6 separate regions of the Homo sapiens genome follow, and regions 2, 3, 4, 5 and 6 are each linked to region 1. Evidence: promoter capture Hi-C in 16 types of primary human blood cells and fetal thymus (Javierre and others, 2016). All regions are on one chromosome and are shown on one strand. Each heading gives the region's core, a stretch centred on a gene start or on the middle of the fragment in contact. The rest is flanking DNA. Distances are from core to core; before and after follow the strand shown.

Region 1 (2,517 bases), core at 11-2,510:
GGAATTTAGTTTTGTCGCCCACAGAATGGGGGAACAATGTGGACAATTATCCAAGTCTCTCCCAGCAAAATATCTGTGGCTGTAAGGTTTCACCTTGCACATCCCCTGGCCAGGGGGCAGCTCCAGCTATCAGGATGTGGCAGAACGTGAATCAGAAATGATCCTGTGGGGCTGGGTGCGGTGGCTCACGCCATAATCACAGCACTTTGGGAGGCTGAGGCAGGTGGATCAGTTGAAGCCAGGTGTTTGAGACCAGCCTGGCCAACATGGCAAAACCCCATCTCTACTAAAAATACAAATTAGCCAGGCATGGTGGCGCACAACACCTGTAATCCCAGCAGCTACTTGGGAGGCTGAGGCAGGAGAATCACTTGAACCTGGGAGGTGGAGGTTGCAGTGAGCCAAGATCGCGCCACTGCACTCCAGCCTGGGCAACAGAGACTCTGTCTCAAAATAAAATAAAATACAAAAACACAAAACTTAGCTGGGTGTGGTGGCAGGTGGCTGTAGTCCCAGCTACTCGAGAGGCTGGAGCACGAGAATTGCTTGAACCTAGGAGGCGGAGGTTGCAGTGAGCTGAGATTGCGCCCCTGCACTCCAGCCTGGGGGACAGAGAGAGACCCTGTCTTAAAAAAAGAAAAGAAAAAAAGAAAGAAAGAAAGAAGGAAATGACTCCGTGGACGAGGAGACGTGGGCTCTAGCCAGAGCACCAATAGTGATTTTCAGAATATTGAACGGCTGCTGAGGCAGGGGCAGGAAGCACTAGTACATTGGCTCTGTGCAGGACAGCTTCACTTCTGGGATCCAGGGAAAGGGGGTACATCTTACCTCCCTAAGAGAAGAAACTCCCTCCTTCTCTGTGGACTTTCCAATCCTATTGCTCCACACCTGGCAATGATCTCTTTGTACTGAGCTGCAAACCCTGTCGCCCAACCCCCAGACCACTCCAACTTCCCACAACCCCAAACCAAAGCACCCACACAGTGAGAAGTCATGCACCTAGAAGGTAGGGGGAGGGGGGGCGGAAACTTCTGGCATCACCCTCAGCCAACACCCAGTTGGGTGGAAGTCATTCAGGCGGGAAGGCTTTTGTTACGCCTTAGGTGTGTCACCTGTTCTGAGGCCGAAGGTCCCATGAATGACTTCAGGTGTTGTTCCAGCCCCTAAGATAGGTGTCAGGTTACAAGACACATAATCATTCCAGTTTGGCAACTTCACTTGTAGGGCTGTTTTAATCAAGCTGCCCAAAGTCCCCCAATCACTCCTGGAATACACAGAGAGAGGCAGCAGCTTGCTCAGCGGACAAGGATGCTGGGCGTGAGGGACCAAGGCCTGCCCTGCACTCGGGCCTCCTCCAGCCAGTGCTGACCAGGGACTTCTGACCTGCTGGCCAGCCAGGACCTGTGTGGGGAGGCCCTCCTGCTGCCTTGGGGTGACAATCTCAGCTCCAGGCTACAGGGAGACCGGGAGGATCACAGAGCCAGCATGGTGAGTGTGGGGCCCTCTGCTCCCAAGACACAGGAAGGGTGGGTCTCCCCATGTAAGGCCCTTCAAGCAGCCTGAGCATCCATCAGCTGAGAATTCTGTGACACCTTCTAGGTTAAAAAAAGAGGCCACACCCAAATCCCCTCACACCCCAGCCCGGTACACGTCTCATACCCACCTGCCTTCCTCTCTTCCTCCATTGCCATGGTCCTTGGACCAGCTCACCTAAGAAGCTGAGCACAGAGCCAGGGCTGTCCTTCCCGACTATTCTTTCCTGAATCCTGCATGTTCTTTTGCCCAATGTCTCCAGGTCTGTTGGTTAGAGGTTGGCACTATTTTTCCAAGGCAGGGGGCTGTTCTGATGCCACGGTTGCCCTCTGCCACTCCCTGGGGAAACTGATTCCTTTTCTTTTTAAAGAAAAGTGTAGACTGGGTGCAGTGGCTCACGCCTGTAGTCCCAGCACTTTGCGAGGCTGAGGCAGACAGATCTCTCGAGGTCAGGAGTTTGAGACCAGCCTGGCCAGTATGGTGAAACCCCATCCGTACTAAAAATACAAAAAATTAGCCAGGCGTGGTGGCAGGTGCCTGTAATCCCAGCTACTTGGGAGGCTGAGGCAGGAGAATCGCTTGAACTTGGGAGGCGGAGGTTGTGGTGAGCCAAGATTGTGCCATTGCACTCCAACCTGGGCAACAAGAGTGAAACTCCGTCTCAAAAAAAAAAAAAAAAAAAAAAAAAAAAAAAGAAAGAAGGAAAAGAAAACAGTGCAGAGATGCCTCCAAACAATCTAGGGTGTTTGTGGTCATCTTTTACTTGGTCTCTTTTCATGCCCTCACCCTCTCTCCTCCTCCTCTGAATACCTGGAGCGTCTTCGCTGTCTTGGGGCAAAGAGAATCAACCCTATCTTTCAAGGAGGACAGCTGAGGGCCAGGGAGGGGAAGAGATAATAACTGGGTCTGAGGAGGAACCCAGGGGTCTTCCTTCTCCAGTCCTTGGCCAAGAGGCAGCAATTGCCCAGCCACCAAAGTGAAAGG
Region 2 (2,517 bases), core at 8-2,507, 230 kb before region 1:
TCAGAATGAATCTGCCATTTCATTTCTCCCCACTGCCAATCACCTTTCCCTATGCCTCAGACCACCCCACTTCCCTTAACAGTAAATATCCCTAAGCCTTATCTTTGGGGAGGCGGATTTGAGAGCCGTTCTCCGGCCTCCTTGCTTGGTGGTCTTCTGAATAAATCTTTTCTCTTTTGCAAAATCTGTGTCACAGTGATTGATTTACTGAGATTTACTGAGTGTGGGCAGAACAGACCTGAAGCTGGCCGATAACATGTCTCTTAGAATATTCTAACAGATAGTTTAAAACTGTTACTGTCCTCTGAGTTGGGTCTTTTAGAATTATGTAGTGATCCTCCCTGTCTTAAATTCTATGTTACTCTCTACCTTTCTGTGTCCTTATGTGTTGTGTGTGCATCTTATAAACAGCAAAGAGATGGATTTTTGAAAAATTCTGTATTGTCAGGCTTTCTGTATTAATTGTCAAATTTACCCCATTTAATTTACTTATTGTGACTATTGATGTAGTTGGTCTGCTTTCTGCCATCTGTTTTTTCCCTATGGGAATGTGCTTGTTTCTTTTTCTTTCCTTGCCCTTTCTTTTTTCTGGATTAGTTATTTTTATTTTTATTTTTTTGGGGGGCGGTCTCACTATGTTACGTAGGCTGGTCTCGAACTCCTGGGCTCAGGTGATCTGCCTGCCTTGGCCTCCCAAAGTGCTGGGATTATAGGCATGAGCCACTGCCCCTAGCTTAGTGATTTTTTTTTTTCTTATTCCTTTTCTCCCTCTACTGGTTTAGAAATTATAGAAACTATTTTAATCTTTTAGTGGTCATCTTTGTAATTTTTCCATGTGTATTCAATGTAAAAAAGACCAAAAAAATTCAGAGTTAATACTTATAATAGTTATTAGGCAGAATACCCTCCTTGAAAATACAAAAATACAAATCATCCCCTTCCTGATACATATGCTATTATTGGAGAATATTTCAGTTCTTTTTAAAATTCTATAAAATAGATACTAATATTCGTACTTCATGAAAACTATGTTTGTTTGGATTCACCCATGTGTGTAGTAGCCAGCCTGCAAGACAGCTCCCAGTATCTCCTAGTATTCAGATCCTTGTACAGTCCCCTCCCACACTGCACCAGGGTTGGTCTGTATGACCAGGAAAATATGGCAGAAGTAATGGTATGTCACTTTCGATATGAGGTTATAAAAAGCAACACAGCCTCTTGTGTGCTCTCTCTCTCTCTCCCTCCCTCTCGGATTGCTTGTTCTGAGTCAAGCTAGCTGCCATGTCTTAAGGATATTCAGGCACCCCTGTGGAGAGGCCCATGTGGTGGCCTCACTCCAAAAGCCTGCTAAGAAATACAGCCTGCCATGAACCACATAAGTGAGCTTGGAAACAGATCTTCCGGCTTCATGAAAGACCTTGAGCCAGAACCACCCACTGAAGATTCTCCCTGATTCCATACCCTCAGAAACTGTGTGAAATATCAAACGTTTGCTGTTTTAGGCTGCTGAGTTTGGAAGTAATTTGCTATGCAGCAATAGATAATGAATTTACAACATATGTACTGATTTGTTCACCATTGTTTTTGAACGTTAGTCATCCTTCATGCCATTTTCTTTATTCCTAAAGAACATCTTTCAAAATTTTCTTTAATGAAGATCTGTTCGTTAGAAACTCTGTTTCTGTTTATTTGGAAATGTTTTCATTTCACCTTTATGGCAAGAGACCCTACGGCGATCCCCAGTCATTCCAGCCTTCTAGTGTTCAATGCTTTGAGTAATCTCTTTCCTTTGAATACTGGCAGGAGCTGCAACACACTTTTAACCAACAGAATGTGGCAAAAGTGGCAAAAGGACAGCTCTCAGATGATGGTGTTATATCATATAAGACTCAATCTTGCAGGCTGGAGCTCGAGAATTTTCTCCCTTGCTGGCTTGAAAAAGCAAGCTGCTATGTCATGAGACAGGCTACGGAGAGAAGCACAGGATAAGGAATTGTGGGAAGCCTCTAGCAGCTGACAGCTGCCCCTGGCCAGAAGCCAGCAAGAAGATGGGAACCTCAGTTCTTCTACCACAAGGAGATGAATACTGCCAGCAACCTGAGGGAGTCTGGAGGCAGATCTTTCCCCAGTCAATTCTCTTATCAGACCACAACCTTAGCCAGCACCTAGACTGTAGTTCGGTATGATGCTGAAGCAGAAAATTCAGCTAAGCTGTGCCAGACCTCTGACCTAAAGAAACCATTACATAATAAACATGTGTTGCTTTAAGCTGCTGGGTCTGTGATCGTTTGTTATGCAGCAATAGAAAACTAATACAATCCTAACCTTGAAAGGTAGTTTGGCTATGTACACAATTCTAGGCTGATAATTATTTTTGCTCTGCACTTTTAAGATGTTATTCCACTGCTATCTGGCTTCCATGATTGCTGTTGAGAAGTCTGCTGCTTATATCATCATTCCTTTATAGATGTCCTATCTTTCTTCTCTGCCTCCTTTTATTTTCTTCTTTTTGTGTTT
Region 3 (2,517 bases), core at 13-2,512, 200 kb before region 1:
ACCAGTATCTAGGCAACCATACTGGGGGGAGGGGAGGAGATATGGAGGTGAGGAATGGGCAGGAGAAAGAGGGAGGCTGAGAAATGGAGGAGTTTCCATGGCAACGACCAGGCAAGTCACGTGCAAAAGGCTAAGTTGCGGACGTAGACATACACATCCATAATATGAGGGTGGCTGGATCCCCAAAGGGGGCTCCTTTCAGAGAGGGCCTGAGATGCCCACTGATCCATCTTCAAAGCTGGAAATCTTAGCCCAGCCAGACAGCACGAAGCCACAGAGACAAAGGAAGTAGTGGCAGAGAGCACACTGGTGGGGAGAAGCCTCCAGTAGCCACGGTCCCGCGAGCGTGCAGGCTTGCAGCAGGTGACGCGGCAGACCCATGTTTCCAGCGAGGCTGCTCCCAGCTCCCACCCTCGGGTGCCTCCTCTACCAGCCACCACTTGTAAGAGCCAGAAGCCAGCGCTGGGAGCTCCAGGCTGCACACCCAACTCTCCACGGAAGCCCGGGAGACACAATAGGGGAGGCTCTGCCAGGGCCAGCCCTGCTGGGGAAAGGGGGCAATGGCGGACCCCAGGGCCCCCCGGAAAGGAAACAGGATTGGATGGATAAGACAAGAAGGAGGGAAAAAATGATGCACTCTCATGAATCCCCGAGCGCTAGAATCCTTCTTTCCCTGCGCCCCCATCCTGTGCCCACTGCCCAGCCCCACCTTCCCCAAGCACCAAACCAGCAAGTTCCATTTTGTGTCGCTCATAAGTCCACACTCACACCCAGCCACACGCCCTCGTCCGTAATTCCCCACGCTCCACCAAGTGTCCACAGCTTCCAAGTAACAAAGGGAAAACTCCTCATGGATAAAGGGTGGGCGCAGCCCTTTCCCCTTCTCCTGAAAACCCTGACCCCAAGCTCAAGGCAGCACCGAGAGCAATTCCCAGCCACCAGCGTCACCCCCAGCGCCACAGCCTGCCTCCCCTAGAGGCTCCTCTCTCTTCCGACGCCGATCTCCTTGTTTACATCCCCAGCCCGGTTTCCCGCTGCCCAGGCGGGGACCGCGGCGCAGCTGACCGCGGAGGACCGCACACACCCACTGAACACACAAAACCCGGCGCTCCCGGCGCTCCAGAGATCGGTCCCCACCGAGCCTCGCCCCTCCTCGGAAAAAGGAGCCAACTTTGCCCACCTCCCCAGCCGCCTACCTGCACAGCCGGTCCCCTCCGAGACTCCCAGGAGGACCCGCCGAGTCCCGAGGAGCCTGGGAGTGGCGGGGCTGGGGGCAGGGCGGTGGGTGAGGCTTGAGCTGCTTTCCCGCCTCCCCTCCTCCTAGGAGTCGGGCTGGCTGGGAGGCGCGTCCTGCGGGGGCGGGGGGGGGGCTCGCTCGGGGCTGGGCTCGGGGACAGCCCACTCCGTGCTGCCGTCCGCTGGCTTCTGGGTAGCGGCCGCGCGCAGACCCCCTCTCCTCCTCTCCCTGTCCGTCCTCCCGCTCTGTGCTCGCGCGCGTCCTCTGCTCCTCTCTCCTCTCGAGGGGCGGAGAGATTTTTCCAAAGGGCAGTCAAGCTCCGAGAAGCAACAGGAGACTGCCGCCGAGGAGGCGTGCAAGCGCCGGAGCGGATTTGCCATCAGCTGTTGCTTTTCGGTTTCCCTCTGGTTAGGGTGGGAAGGGAGCAAGACAGGCACAATGACAGACCTGGTGTCTCTCTGCAATAGTAAACCCCGAGGAACGGAAAAATAGGAGAAAATAACCCAGCACCAGACACAGCAGCCCACGTTAATTGGGAGCCTTGGTAATTAAGGGGAATGTGCACCAAAAGCATGAATGGCTGTGTCGTGGGCGCAGGAGCCAGCTCCAGTTGTAGTTGTCATTTTCAGCTAGAGCCAGGTGGGGAGCTGGGGGGATGGTCCTTACCTGAACCATAGATCTGCTGCCTTGAACCCCCTTTTCAAGCCCCATCCACCTCTGGCCCTGCCAGGAGCAGTACCACCCCGTCCTCAGCCCAGTCCCCAAGAGTCAAAATTCATGATGACGAACTTTGAATGTGAAGATGTAAATAAATCCTGGCTCGGCAACCCTGCCTGTGACGCGACTTGGAGCATATCTCTGCACTCAGCTCCTGAGTCTATTTCCTCACGTGGGAAAATGGTGATTAGAGACTGACCCCATGGGAGGCTTAGCTCATAGTGAGTGCTCAAGAAATTGGCTCTTACTATTAGGGGCAGAGCTTGTAGGAAGGGGCAGAGGCCAGGCACAAGTGTCAGTAGCCAGGAGCCATGCTGAGATGGAGGCTGTCCAGCCTCAGTCAAGGTGTGTGTATGGCCGAGCCGGGTGGAGGGAGGAGCTACTGAGAAAGGCTGTGATTGTCCAAGCCTAGGTAGGGCCACGGAGAGTTCCTTACAAACCCCAAGCCGGGGATGATGGGTACTGCTAGGAAGAAACCTAGCCCTGCCTCTGCTGCCCTCAGTTCTGGGCCTGTTTTCTCATTTGGGAAAATAGGGAGATGGACTAGATGATCCTGAGGTCTC
Region 4 (2,517 bases), core at 11-2,510, 180 kb before region 1:
CTCTAAGTCATGGAGCTCCACGACTTAGAGGGACCACCAGCTGGGAATATCCACCTGGCCTAGGTGGTAGCATCACCTCCATGGAGGATCAGGTCATTGCTAAAAGCCTAGGAACAAAGTTTATGGAGAGACATGGCAAATTTCCTAGGACTCGAAGCTTTATCCAAAATTCTCTCTCCTATGTCATGTGTTTGATGAAGCGCCTGAGGGTGAAGGATCTGACCCTTTCGCTGCGAATTCAACATATGCAGAGAGGTCATGATATGCTAATCACTTTGCCCTGCATGTTTATATGGATCGTACCATTTAATCTCACAACGAATGTAGGCCAGATACACCCATTTTACATATGAAGAAACAGAGAGGATGGTTTGTCTAAGACCACATAGCTGAGTAAGTAGTAGAGTTGGAATTTGTACCTCCAGGTACTTTGATTCCAACTCCAGAGCTCTCTCTGCTACAACACAGCGTAATTAGAAGGAATTATTCAAAGCAGATTCCCAGCTCCTTCCTTCTATGAAAAGTAGACAACCTTTTCTGGGACTCAGGGCTTGGACAGAGAAGGCCTCCTATTATGTCCACCTCCCATGTCCCATTGGCAGGAGTGAGCCGTGGAGGACCATAGACCAGGCTATGCCCTCACCTTTCTCAGAGGTCTCAAGACCTCCTGTCCCAGAAGGTCCAGGGCTGTTTATCTCCTGAGCACAGTCCTCCCTGTTCTCTGGGAGGACCCATTGTAAGATCGGTACAGCACGCTTACTTACTGGACTGGGTGGCAGCCTTCCTAGGGACAGGAAGCCTGGGCCAGTGCACAGGAGACGGGGAATGAATGGCATGTTCCTTTCAGAGCCATCCACCTACATCAAGGAGACTTGGAGGTGTCCTGGGTGACAGCTTGTTGTGACTTGACAGGGCATCCCAGAAACCATCCACTTGGGACCGGGGTGGAGGAGGGCCTCCTCCCACTCATGATGTACTTGTCCAAGTTACCAGAAACCACATGGTCTAAGCCTCTGGTCATGTGACACTCTGATGGGTGCGCCTAGCCTTCTCTGGGGAGTTGTCTCACCCTGACACTCTTGGAAAGATACGCAGAGCCAGAGAGCAGAGCCTATGAGGTCCCACTTGGGAGGATTCCACCTGACTCTGGTGCAGAGTGTAAAAGAGCAGCTGAATGCAGAGTGTAAAAAAGCAGCTGCATGTCAGAGCCTGGATTCAAATCCACCTCTGCCATGCAGCAGTCATGTAGTTTGGGAGGCTTATTTCACTTTGCTTGGCCTTTGTTTCCTCATCTGTAAATTAGGAATGAAGACAATGTCCACTTCACGGGATTCTTGTGCTCACAGGAGATAATATACATCAGGTGTCCAGCACAGCATGTGGCACATAGCAAACGTTTAGCAAATGCTGGCTATTATTATCATTATCCTCATCATGGCCATCACGGGGACTTCACATGTGTGTCCCCATGTCCACCCAATTGCATCAGGACCACAGCTAAGTGATTATGGGGAACAATGATCCCTGGGAATCTAACCAAAGCCCAGAGGCAGCTGGAGCACCTGCTAGGCTGTAAGTGGCTCCTTCTGTAAAGAGCCATCATCTCTCCCTGCAATAGCCTCCCCCTTCTCCTGCCCAGCACACTCACTTGGCACTCCTTTCCCAGATAAATTCTATGGAAATTCAGCAGTCAATAGAGTTGACAAAGCCAGAAGGCTTGGCTGGTACTTGGAGGAGCCTAGGCTCCAGGGACATAGGACAATGTCACTGCAACCACCTCCCTGCCCAAAACACACACACAGTTCCCTGGAGATTCTGCGCCAGTTTAGAATGCCCTATCACCCCCCGCCATCCCTAATTTTGGTAGCCTCTATAGATATCCTGGGCCAAAGGAATGTATTTTTCTTTTCCCATCCAGATCCTGCTTTTTCTCTAACTTATTTCCCTGCCCCCCTCCCATACCCTTACATCCCTGCCAGTCAATTTATGTCCTAGGAATGCCCTGAGAGAGAAAGGAAAGTGTCTGCTTTCTAAGGGGAAAGAAACAGAAATGGCCTAAGCTCTAAGTTTCTGCCCAGGCTGGGCTTCTGAGGATGCAGCCACCTTCCTATGGTGAGTGGAGATGGCTGGTTGTCCTCTGAAATGAGTGCTGGCTCCTGCAGGGGGATCTGCCAAGGACTGCCTTTCCCAGCCCAATTTTGTCTAGGTGGTGCCACATGTCACATATGACATGTCTGTACCCATAAAATGTCAGTGGAAATGACTTCCGGGCTAGAGCACTTAAGGAGTGAATGAGTCTTTTTTATATTTTCTTTCTGGCTAGAAGTAGACAACAATGTGGATGACAAACTCCCAAGATGGAAAAAGCTTGTGGAAGAAAGTCTCCCTCTGATCAGAACACCCTTACAGGATTGTTGCATGGATGCAAAATAAACTTCAATTAGGTTAAACCATTGAAATTGTCAGAAACTGTAGGATCTATTACAGTCAGTGTCACCCCTCCTAGGAATATAGTAA
Region 5 (2,517 bases), core at 7-2,506, 150 kb before region 1:
TTCTTCAGCCATAAGCAGCAGCCTGAACTTGGGAAATATGCACTTCAGGTCCCCCAGAGCCTGGGCTTGCAGTGTGAACCACCCTATAAAAAGCTCTCCCGCAATTGAACAATGAGAACACTTGGACACAGGATGGGGAACATCACACACCAGGGCCTGTCGGGGAGTGGGGAGACGGGGGAGGGATAGCATTAGGAGAAATACCTAATGTAAAGGACGAGTTAATGGGTGCAGCACACCAACACGGCACATGTATACATATGTAACAAACCTGCACGTTGTGCACATGTACCCTAGAACTTAAAGTATAATAATTAAAAAAAAAAAAAAAAAAGCTCTCCTTCTAGTCCTGAAGAATGTCCAGCAGGGAGCAGTAGCTGCTTCATGGCCTGAGGGCGGGTGCATCAGGGCCCGTTTCAGTCCAGTTTAAGCCAATTGGGCCTCCCTCCTCAGCCCTGGGCCATCCCTTCGTAAAGCTACCACCCAGGGTTGGGCATATCACAGGCTGTCAGAGTTGCAAAGATTCTGAAAACCCTCTAAGCTGGGCGTGGTGGCGCCGGCCTGTAGTCCCAGCTACTTGGGAGGCTGAGGTGGGAAAATGGCTTGAGGCCAGAAGCTGAAGACCAACCTAGGCAACATAGCAAGACCCCATCTCAAAGAAAAGAAAAGAAAAGAAAAGAAAACCTACCCAAGCCCTTTATACTATTGTTGAGGCGATGAAGGCCCAGAAAGGCTGTGTGACTTGCTCACGGACACACAGCCAGGTGGGGACGGTGCCAATTCTAGAACCATGATCTTCTGGCCCCCATCCTTGGGCTGTTACACAACACTCTGCTCTTCCCCTCTCTGTCCCTTACCAGCCTCCATGAGAAAGGACCCTTCCCAGACAGAGGCCCCCGTGGCAGCGTCCCTTTTCCAGTGACCCTGGGCATCAAGGGCGCCCATAGGGTGGGCACGGGCAGACCATGGGCCAACAACCCAGCACTCTGGGCTAGGCAGGAAGAAAAACCCCTCACTAAACCCTTCTGGAAGCACTGGCGGCACTGAGAAAGATCAGGATCTCCCTTTGACAGAGCCTAAAAACCCTCCTTGCCTGTTGGGAACCTGGGGAGCCCTGGGGTTGTGGCAGGGGAGGCCTGAACCCTTCCCAGCGAGGGCCCGGCTGGACTGGGTGACTTTTTTCCCTTTCTCACGGCTAGACCCAGGCTTCACTGTACCTCCAGGTTCCCAAGGCCCTTTCCTACTCTCCCCCTCCCCGAACCCAGAGAAACCCCACAAATACAGGCTCTCCTCAGCACACAGGCATCTTCCCCACCACCTCCTCACCCAGCACCAGCATCTCCAGCACACACGCAGTATACAGCTCAGGGACTTGGGTCAGCCCTTGAGGCAGACTGAACTCTGGAAGGGGCCAGAGCTGCAGGGTCTGCCTCGCCCTGGGGGTGGGGGGCACGGGGAGCCTCGCTTCTGCTCCTAGGCCGCCGTGTGACCTTGGGGACAGTCACATCCTTCTCTGGGCCTCAGCTCCCTCTTCAATAAATTAAGGGTGTTGGACAATCAGCAGTTTTCAAACAGGGTTCCACAGAGCATTTCAGTTTCCGTGGAGGTGCCTTGCAGACCAGCTGGTGGGGACTGTGGTGGGCTCTGAGCCCTTACCCCACCTCAACAGAGAAGACCGACCTTTCAGTTTCATACAGCGGAGTCAACATAACATTCATTTGAACAAAAGAGGCAGCTGCTACAACGAACTTGAAAGGGACTGGCCAGAGTAAGTGCTGAAGTCCCTTCTAGTTTCCGATGCCTCCTGTGCACATGAAAAAGCTCAAGGAATCCCTGTTAGACCAGAATCAAGACGCCTCCTTGTTCATTCATTCGTTCATTCACTCATTCATTCATTCATTTATCAAATGCTGTAAAGAACATGGAGTGCCCACTATTGCCCAGCAAATAATGTTTGATTGCCCAGGAACTTGCTGCCTCAATGTTTCCCTGTGTCTGTGCCTTCTCTTGCTGCCAGTCCTAGGGTAGTGACACACTCAGGGCTGGTACATAATGGGGGCCCCTCTAAAGTTTTGGGTATTGCTTCCCTCCTAGGGAAACCAACCCCCATCTGGTGCTGTCAAGGCCTCCACTTGACGGCTAAAGCCAGGGTTCCCTGTGGTGGCTTCCCTCATGCCTGCACCACCAGTGCCCTGCCCACTTGGCCAGGCACATCCACCCTTGTTGTTGCTATACCAAGAGGAATCTGTTCTGCCAAAACAAGACACTTAAGCTAAGTGGCCATTGTTACATCAGTTGTCCTTCCCACCCAGCTCCCCAGCCCAGGGCCCAATACACACACTCCCGCACGCTTACGCTCACATCTGCCAAGTCTCAGGGGACAATGCAGGGGAAATCGAGGTGGCTGTGCCAAAGGAAGTCTGCTCCTCACCAATGACAACATGAAACAGAGGACAAGGTGAGGGCTGCACACCTGCAGGGGCACAGGGCAGGTACCAGGGTCCTTGGAGGACGAGG
Region 6 (2,517 bases), core at 11-2,510, 140 kb before region 1:
CACTCAATAAATACTTACTAATTGATTGATAGAATTCTTTTGCATCCCCTCAGAAGATCTAGCACAAATCTAGGCAATCAGTTATTCAATAAATAAGCCTTTATTGAATCTCTACTATGTACCAAACAATAGTTGCTTAATAACTTAATTGCTTCTTGTGGTCTTCTCATCACAAAGAAAAATTACTGTGTCCTATAAAATAACCCTAATTGAATTAATCACAGCTCTACTCTCATGAGATGGTTCTTACATCACACATACATTCTTCAAAGTTAACTAGAAGGAGAGCCTGGATTTCTAGAATTATAGATTTAAGGAGTATGGGCAATGGATGGTTGAGACCTTGGTCTCTGAGTCAGGCAGACCTGGATTTGAATACAGGCTCCACTACATGGAAGGCCTGTGACTTGGAGCAAATAATTGACTTCTCAATCCTCCATGTCCTCCTCTGTAATCCAGGCAGGAGAACAGGATCTGCCGTATAGGGATGTGGGTATGAAATGAGATCGTGTGGGTAGAGCCGTCACACAGAGTAAGTGTGCAGCGGATATTAACAATCGGACGCGCAGAACATGGGAACTGGAAGGAATTTCAGAGATCCTCTCTTCTGAGCAGTTGTTCCCTTAAACTTCTGATTCCAGAGCAGCCCTCTGACATCTTGCGGCAGGGTATTTGAGAGGCCAGGATTCTAAAGACCCACTTCCTGTGCTTGGTCTGTCCTCCTAGGCCTCAGCCCATGCCTCAGAGTCTGAGGCTGCCCCAGGCTCCTTTGGTTCAACACTGAACCACAGGCTGTGGCATAGGAGTGAGTTCAGAGCCTCAAGGCTAACCCCAAGTTTAACCAGCCAACCATCTTCAGCCCTGCCTGGACCCACCTGGGGCCCACTTGCTCTAGGTTCCAGTTTTGGGATGAGGAGTAAGGAAGACCAGAGAGTCCTCCTGTGCCACCACCTGATCCTCTGCTCAGCACCAGGTGCCCTGGCTGTCCACTCACCCCCAGTGCCTGGCAGAGCCAGTTCTCCCAGTCTGCACTGGGCCAGGGCTGGTGTGAGGCAGAGCAGCTGAGTCACGGCCCCTCGTTCAGTTTAATTACCTATGTGTGCAGATGACACACACAGAGGGGCTAACGAGGGTAATTACTCCGGGTGGGGTGAGCCCAGCTGACTAAGAATGCTTTGTTCTAGATGCAGAGAGCTGGGAGAACATTGCCAGAAGTGCTTCCTGAGCCTGGACCTTGTCTGGCCCTCCAAGACCCCTTCCCACCATCTCCCAGCACTTCCAAAGGCCAGGGAGCTGAGGTCCTAGACGGGGAGGGTGCATGTTCACAAATAGTATGAGTTGCCACCTGTCAATTGTGCATTTCTAGGTCCAGAGACCAGCTCATGGGACAAGGGCCACCTGCTGTGTCTCCTCTAGAGCCAGGAGGCTATCGGAAGGGGCAGATCCATTCATTCATTTCACCATAAAATTTTAACAGCTGTATTGAGATAGAATTTACATACCATACTGTTCACCCATTTAAAGTATACAATTAGATGGTTTTTGGTATATTCAGGGTTGTGTAAGATTGACCATCACAATAAACGTTAGAACATTTTCATCATTCCCAAAAGAAATACCCTACTCTTTAGCACTTACTTCCCCAGCTTCCCTCCCCCAAGCCCTAAGGCAACCACGAATCTACTTTCTGTGCCTGTAGATGTGTCTATTCTGGTCATTTCCTGTAAGTGGACTCATGCAGTGTGTGGTCTTCTGTGGCTGGCTCCTTTCATTCATCATCATATTTTCAAGGTCCATCTGCGCTGTGGCTTATGTTGGGACTCAGAAAACAACACCTCAAAATGAAGACCTCAGAAACAAAAGTTTTTCTCTGACCTGCTCCTGCCCTCCTGTTTCTCAGTCCCATTCTCCCCCGAGGCCAGCCGTTGAGACTGGAATCCCTCTTTTCCAAGGTGGGTCATAGAAACCCAAACTCCTTTTCTCCAAAGCCAGCCATAAAACCTAAAAGTATCAATCTCTCTCCCCAACTCCACACCGCCAGTGTAAAAACTGGCCATAAAACATGATGTGACCTACCTTACCTGACTGTAGTTCATTAGACCCTCATACCCAGAAGGAAGGAACACATGCTCAAAGGGGTCAACAAAAATCTAGATGGACAGCCTTGCTGGATTTCCATACTCACTCTGTTAGCATTAGATCAGACCCTTTTTGTCCAATCGTATTTCTCCACACAGCTGTCTATACTTTGTTGAACCTAAGCATAAAAATGGACAACTTCCCCTGTATCTTTGGGTCTTCATTCTGAAAGCTCCTGTGTCACCTAAAACTATGGTCAAATAAATTTATGTACCTTTTCTCCTATTAATCTGCCTTATGTGAGTGATTTTCAACAAAACTTCAGAGGGTGAAGCAGAATTTTTCCCTTGGACTTGACGCTTGTATCAGTACTTCATTTCTTTGTATTGTGAATAACTGTGGATAACACTCCATTGTGTGGATATGCCACATTTTATT

The links. Contacts are between HindIII fragments. The CHiCAGO score rates a contact against its expected background, and 5 or more counts as called.
Region 2: a fragment that was not itself captured here is called in contact with the fragment with the promoter of TMPRSS4 in region 1 in 11 of 17 cell types (activated CD4 T cells, total CD8 T cells, non-activated CD4 T cells and 8 more); the score reaches 9.9 in activated CD4 T cells.
Region 3: a contact is called between the fragment with the promoter of FXYD6 here and the fragment with the promoter of TMPRSS4 in region 1, in 4 of 17 cell types (activated CD4 T cells, naive CD4 T cells, non-activated CD4 T cells and 1 more). The highest score is 6.1, in activated CD4 T cells.
Region 4: a fragment that was not itself captured here is called in contact with the fragment with the promoter of TMPRSS4 in region 1 in 1 of 17 cell types (activated CD4 T cells); the score reaches 5.2 in activated CD4 T cells.
Region 5: a contact is called between a fragment that was not itself captured here and the fragment with the promoter of TMPRSS4 in region 1, in 2 of 17 cell types (activated CD4 T cells and naive CD4 T cells). The highest score is 5.4, in activated CD4 T cells.
Region 6: a fragment that was not itself captured here is called in contact with the fragment with the promoter of TMPRSS4 in region 1 in 6 of 17 cell types (total CD8 T cells, activated CD4 T cells, naive B cells and 3 more); the score reaches 5.8 in total CD8 T cells.

The regions. Positions count from the first base shown.
Region 1 is chr11:118,075,818-118,078,334 of GRCh38, forward strand. It overlaps TMPRSS4 (transmembrane serine protease 4), which reads left to right and starts at 1,261. Exons shown (of 13, transcript NM_019894.4): 1 at 1,261-1,488. The coding sequence starts at 1,486. The region is part of intron 1 of SMIM35 (small integral membrane protein 35); the gene reads right to left. RefSeq lists an enhancer at 1,116-1,711. The HindIII fragment of the contact is 4,332 bases long and covers 1-2,517 here.
Region 2 is chr11:117,850,058-117,852,574 of GRCh38, forward strand. All of the region lies in intron 1 of FXYD6-FXYD2 (FXYD6-FXYD2 readthrough), which reads right to left. The region is part of intron 1 of FXYD6 (FXYD domain containing ion transport regulator 6); the gene reads right to left. Among named protein-coding and RNA genes, the nearest start is that of FXYD6-AS1, 18 kb to the left of the region's middle. The HindIII fragment of the contact is 4,307 bases long and covers 1-2,517 here.
Region 3 is chr11:117,875,396-117,877,912 of GRCh38, forward strand. It overlaps FXYD6 (FXYD domain containing ion transport regulator 6), which reads right to left and starts at 1,263. Exons shown (of 8, transcript NM_022003.4): 1 at 1,197-1,263. FXYD6-FXYD2 (FXYD6-FXYD2 readthrough) reads right to left here and starts at 1,263. Exons shown (of 10, transcript NM_001243598.4): 1 at 1,197-1,263. The HindIII fragment of the contact is 14,206 bases long and covers 1-2,517 here.
Region 4 is chr11:117,897,271-117,899,787 of GRCh38, forward strand. No RefSeq gene overlaps it. Among named protein-coding and RNA genes, the nearest start is that of FXYD6-FXYD2, 22 kb to the left of the region's middle. The HindIII fragment of the contact is 2,210 bases long and covers 156-2,365 here.
Region 5 is chr11:117,923,523-117,926,039 of GRCh38, forward strand. The region is part of intron 1 of TMPRSS13 (transmembrane serine protease 13); the gene reads right to left. Among named protein-coding and RNA genes, the nearest start is that of TMPRSS13, 4.6 kb to the right of the region's middle. The HindIII fragment of the contact is 4,391 bases long and covers 1-2,517 here.
Region 6 is chr11:117,940,460-117,942,976 of GRCh38, forward strand. No RefSeq gene overlaps it. Among named protein-coding and RNA genes, the nearest start is that of TMPRSS13, 12 kb to the left of the region's middle. The HindIII fragment of the contact is 3,240 bases long and covers 1-2,517 here.